Regions from separate parts of the Homo sapiens genome. Here region 1 is linked to region 2. Evidence: promoter capture Hi-C in human tissues and cell types (Jung and others, 2019). All regions are on one chromosome and are shown on one strand. The core of a region is centred on a gene start or on the middle of the fragment in contact, and the rest is flanking DNA. Distances in the headings are between cores, read along the strand shown. Region 1 overlaps ARHGAP32 (Rho GTPase activating protein 32). Region 2 holds the start of TMEM45B (transmembrane protein 45B).

Region 1 (2,700 bases), core at 165-2,664, 770 kb after region 2:
AAGAGAAAATGTTAGAGCCTTTACCACAAGTGAAATTGCAAAGCTTGAACATAATTCAACTCAATCCAGAGAGCACCAAACATCAAATTGGGGCCAAGGTAGAACTTGAACATTTAATTTCCAGCTATGTGACTTGGAGAGCACTATAATTTCAGATGTGGAAACCAGCTGCAGGTAGGCTCTTTTAGAAACATGAATTGTATACTCCATAAATTCTGAAACAAGGCAGATATTTGTACATTGTTACTTGAATTTCAGAAGGGTACCTCAAGGCATCAGGATCTTTTTCAGAGTCACTCTTGAAATAGTTGTATCTTCCCAGCCTTGGTAACCACCTTTTTACAGTTCTCTAGCCTTTGCATTGAAACACACCACTTTGTGGAATGACTTTTAACATTCTATCCGTCATGGCTTAAGATCCTGAAGCAGCTATTTCCAGGGCACCTCCCATCTCCTCGGCATGAGCAGTTTCCCAGTCACTTCTTCATCCCCCCAAGTCCTCTTCATGAGAGTCTCCAGAGCTCATAGCATCAAGGTCTCCATTGCTGGGACTCACACCGGAGACTACATCTGGAAGCTCCACTCCTCCAGCTCTCTCTGCTGGAGACCAAACTGACAGTTTATTGCAAAGACTTGTAAAAACAAAGATTATTTACAAATGCATTTTTGTATACATTTGTTTAATTTACGACCTGAGACTTTTATAATCGCTTTCCAAACCCTTTTATGGAGGGTGGAACACTTACTTGAGGCTACGCTGTTAACCATGTCCCATATCCCCTCTCATAACTGACTTGTGTAAGAAAAAAAAATGAAGATTTTTTTAAGTTGACTCTTACCTGGTTCTAATCAGTCTTGGAAGCATTTCTACTTGTTCCGTAAAATAGGAAGTTGAGTAGAATATATTAAAGAATTTCACCAGTAAAACAAATACCTAAAGCATCATTTTGGAAGGCAGTGCATAGGAATCCCAAATTCACATCTTGTGAACAAAACTGATAGTCTGATAATGATACCTCATCTCTACACAAAATAAACAAAATTAGCCAGGTGAGGTGGTGCATGCCCAGAGTCGCAGCTACTCAGGAGGCTGAGGTGCGAGAATTGTTTGAGCCTGGGGGATCGAGGCTGCAGTGAGCCTAGATTGTGCCACTGCACTCCAGCCTGGGTGACAGAATGAGACCCTGTCTCAAAAACAAAAAACAAAAAAACTGATAATCTGTTAATACCCCTTTTCAGCTCATGATAACTGGTTTATATCTTCACAATTTTAACAACTACCATAGAATATGGATCTAGAAATTGAAATAAGAATGTAGCAAATGAGTATGTGAAAATAATTTCACACAGATGGAAATTATACAGCTCAGAACTTGGTGATGAATCATACCCTTGGAAAACTATTCCATTCTTCCCCAGAGTCTGTCAACAGAGGGATACACAAAGTGATGGAGCTTTCATATTTCAGCTTTAACATCTGCTGCATGGCAGCCCATTTATATTTTTATCTAAGGAAACATCTATAAATATTGATAAAGATTTCCTCTTTGCTTTTGTTTCCAGGCTGTTTATCTCGGTATTTATCCTTTTGGCTATACAGTATCTCTGGATGATCTGGAACTCAGCATTTTCCTAATACGGCTTGTTACAATGCCAAAAGCAATGCCTGCGGTTCTGCTACTAGGTCACTGTGGTGTGTTCCTCAAAGCCAGAGTCTGTTGACACTGCTGAGATTGGCTGTTTTCTTCTCTCTTACTTTCCCTCTTTTCCATGCGCTACTAGTTTTTAAAAGCAGTGAATACCAGGATTTTAAATGAGAGATTATTTTACACATTTATTTTAGTCATGTCTTTTTTTTTTTTTTTTTATGAAACCTGGGAGAGAGTGAAGAGAAAATTCACAAAAAGTTTGAGTTGTGGCTTAGTGTTGATTTAAAAAACCCATAGAGAAGTCAATAAACATAAGTTGGCAACAGAGGTATCAACATAACTGGATTGAGATTTCAGTAAAGCGCATTATTAAATTATAAAATTTTACCTACTTGCATGCATAGCTCATTGTCAGACTAAATATTTTAATTCATGTAAAAAAAGATTGGGAAATTAAAAACTAAAAGGAAAAAAGCAGACTTAGATATTTGGACAAATAAAACAGATAACTTTATGTACTCATAGCAACAGATTGTTTTATTATTTGTTTGTGTAATTGGCATCATCTGTTATTTAGAGTCTTGGAATAATAGAATCATTTGGGAGGGACTGTAGAATACATTACTGGAATTCAGTTGGCAGTGTTCACATAATTGGTCTGTTTGCTGGTTTAGAATCCTTTCTTTGTTGCTTTTCATCAGGTGGGACTCTTCCCTGGACACTGTGTTGAGTTAATTAACCAAAAAGTTCCCCAGTCAGTGACCAACTCAGTGCCAAAACCAGGTGAGTACACTTTTTTCACTAGTGTAGTTATTTTATCAACTGCTTGAAGACACAGATTTTCTGTCAGTCAAGTATTTAGCTTGTTTTGCTAGTTTTGCATTTATAGGCATAATAATTAACATTCTTAATTTTATATGGTTTTGATTTTTAAATGTATTCTTATATCTCTGTTGATCATTTTGAAAAGGTTTACATGCACTCAAATTTTTAGGCAATTGCTCCATTAAGCTTTGTCATTATTTACTTTTATAGTTGCATAATAGCATTG
Region 2 (2,909 bases), core at 282-2,781:
ATTAAACCAAGAAGCTCACTGTCACAAAGAGCTAAGTCTGACGCCCCTGGGCCCCTACCTAACCACGTGTCCTGATTCTTTCCATAACTTCCCACTGCACAACATCCAGGTTATACTGAAGATATTACACATCTGGTTAAAAACAGTACACGTCTCTCATGAACAATAAGCCATCCTTTCTATTAAAATGAGTGTAAAATTGCAGGTAAAATGCTGTAGGCAGGCCTGTTTGGAAGGCTATGCGACCCTAGGAGACAAAAAGGTGCAGGAGGAGGAAAAGGGCAGACACCGCAGAAAGCGGTCGAAGAGAACGTGAAAGAAGTGGCCATTTCTAGCTGGGCGCGGTGGTTCACGCCTGTAATCCCAGCACTTTGGGAGGCTGAGGCGGGTGGATCATGAGGTCAGGAGATCGAGACCATCCTGGCTAACACGGTGAAACCCCGTCTCTACCAAAAAAAAAAAAAATACAAAAAATTAGCCGGGCGTGGTGGCGGGCGCCAGTAGTCCTAGCTACTCGGGAGGCTGAGGCAGGAGAATGGTGTGAACCCGGGAGGTGGAGCTTGCAGTGATCCGAGATTGCGCCACTGCACTCCAGCCTGGGCGACAGAGCGAGACTCCGTCTCAAAAAAAAAAAAAAAAAAAAAAAGAAGTGGCCATTTCTGCAACTTTTAGGAGAGCTACCTGCCCTCAAATTTTGAAAGGGTTTCTATTTCTTAAAGTGCTACGTTTCCCTGGCTGAAACTCACATCTTTCTTCCCTCTAGGGCTGGATCAAAGCTTCAGAGGTTGTTTCTCTGGCCCTAGACAGGGCCACCCCCGCAAATTTCTCCCCCACTGCGCCTGACATCCGCTTCCATCCATGGCTCCATTAACGGAAGCTAAGCACTGGCTCGGGGGACTTTATCCACCGCCCGGTGTTATTAGATTCCAGGCTTCCTGGCCTCAGGAAAGGATCTGGCTCGTGTATTTGTGTATCGCAGCTAACAAGGAAAGGCAGTCGGTACCAGTGCCCAGAGCTATGTGAGCTGTGACTGGTCACAGCCCAGGAGCCAGATGGCATCCCCGGGGGCGCGCGTCCCCGGACTCACCGGGCAGACGGAGGCCCGGGGCTTCACACCTTCCCCTCACCGGGCAACGCGGCAGACCTGACTCGCGGGGGACTGAGCAATATTCGTTCCAGGGCCGCGGCCAGCCGGACAGAGGCACTCGGGGGCGGTGGGAGTAGTGTGCGCACCGGTTCCGCAGCCCGGAGGGGGCCCCAGCTGGGCTTCCGCGACACCAGGGCCCTCCATCCCCTCCCGTCCTCCCCTAGCGCAGCCTTCACCCCTGTCCCAGAGCCCCTCCCTGTCCGCGTCCCCTCCCCCGCAGGTCCCCTGCGAGTCGGAACCTCCTCTCCATCACAGCCCCGCTCCTTGGCGGGGCCCCCTCTCCCTTCGAGCCCTCCTCCAGGTTCGAGCCCCCTGCGGGTACGGACGTCTGACCTGTGCCCAGCGCCTCGCAGCCGTCTGCAGCCCGCGCCGCGCGCCAAGTGCGTCCGCCCAGAAGCAGGTGCAGCTCCAGGCCCGCCCCGCCCCGCTGCGCCCCGCCCCGCTCCACTCCGCCAGGCCTGGCAGCCGCCAGCCCCTTTCCACCCTTGACCGCCCTTCCCGGTCCCGGCCAGCGTGCGGGGCATCTGTCGTCAGGTCCGCACTTCCTCCAGGCCTTTGACTTTCCCGTGGAGATGTCTCTGGCCTCAGGAACTCCCTAAGCTGTGTGCTTCAGGAGAGGCTGGTTCCTGAGTCACCCAAGAGGACTGCAACCAACCTGGACCTCCTGAGATGCAAAGAGATCGCAGGGCCTGGGAGGCGGCGAGGACCCTGAGAACAGGCTGTGGCTCCGAAGAGTGTTTGTTACCAAGCCAGGCAACCACTGCGAACACACCGCAGAAACAGCCACGGATCACCGTCCAGCAAAGGAAGAAGGTGCCAACGGTCCATCAGGGACCACAACCCAGTTTTTTTAGTTTAAGTTTGGTGGCTAAGTTTGAGTGTCACATAGTTCATTCATTCCTTCATTCATTCAACAAATCTGCCATGTTCCCATCTGATAACAGATCTGACAGGTGGGCACTGTTCTAGGTGCTGGCGATAGAGCTAAGAAGGAAACAAAGTTCCTGTCCCGGAGAAGGGGGCTACCTGCTGAGGAGAGCATGACTTTCTTTGTGGTATTGTGCTGTGGCAGCAGGGTCCTCTTCTGTAAGCTACTGAGAGGTGAAACCCGCTGGGCTTCTGGGTCGGATGGGGACTTGGAGAACTTTTCTGTCTAGCTAAAGGATTGTAAAAGCATCAATCTGCACTCTGTGTCTAGCTAAAGGTTTGTAAACACACCAATCAGCACTCTGTAAAAATGCACCAATCAGTGCTCTGTGTCCAGCTAATTGGTGGGGACTTGGAGAACTTTTCTCTCTAGCCAAAGGATTGTAAATGCACCAATCAATGCTCTATGTCTAGCTAAAGGTTTGTAAACACATCAATCAGCACTCTGTAAAAACGGACCAATCAGCACTCTGTAAAATGGACCAATCAGCACTCTGTAAAATGGACCAATCAGCGCTCTGTAAAATGGACCAATCAGGAGGATGTGGGCAGGACCAATCAGGAGGATGTGGGCGGGGCCAATGAGGGAATAAAAGCTGGCCATCCGAGCCAGCGGCAGCTGCGTTTGGGTCCCCTTCGATGGTGTTGGGGTTTTGTTGTTTCGCTCTTTGCAATAAATTTTGCTGTTGCTCACCTTTTAGGTCCACACTACCTTTATGAGCTTTAACACTCACAGTGAAGGTCTGCAGGTTCACTCCTGTAAACCAGCGAGACCAGGAAGCCACCACAAGAAACAACTCTGGAGCCGCCACCTTTAAGAGCCATAACACTCACT

What was found. Contacts are between HindIII fragments. The study calls those that stand out against the background at their distance.
Region 1: a fragment that was not itself captured here is called in contact with the fragment with the promoter of TMEM45B in region 2 in 1 of the 25 tissues and cell types used here (stomach).

Annotation. Positions count from the first base shown.
Region 1 is chr11:129,040,660-129,043,359 of GRCh38, reverse strand. It overlaps ARHGAP32 (Rho GTPase activating protein 32), which reads left to right. Exons shown (of 23, transcript NM_001378024.1): 11 at 2,351-2,432. Among named protein-coding and RNA genes, the nearest start is that of TP53AIP1, 99 kb to the right of the region's middle. The HindIII fragment of the contact is 3,799 bases long and covers 1-2,700 here.
Region 2 is chr11:129,814,470-129,817,378 of GRCh38, reverse strand. It overlaps TMEM45B (transmembrane protein 45B), which reads right to left and starts at 1,531. Exons shown (of 6, transcript NM_138788.5): 1 at 1,481-1,531. It overlaps LOC124902793 (a long non-coding RNA gene), which reads left to right and starts at 2,692. Exons shown (of 2, transcript XR_007062952.1): 1 at 2,692-2,909. The HindIII fragment of the contact is 7,942 bases long and covers 14-2,909 here.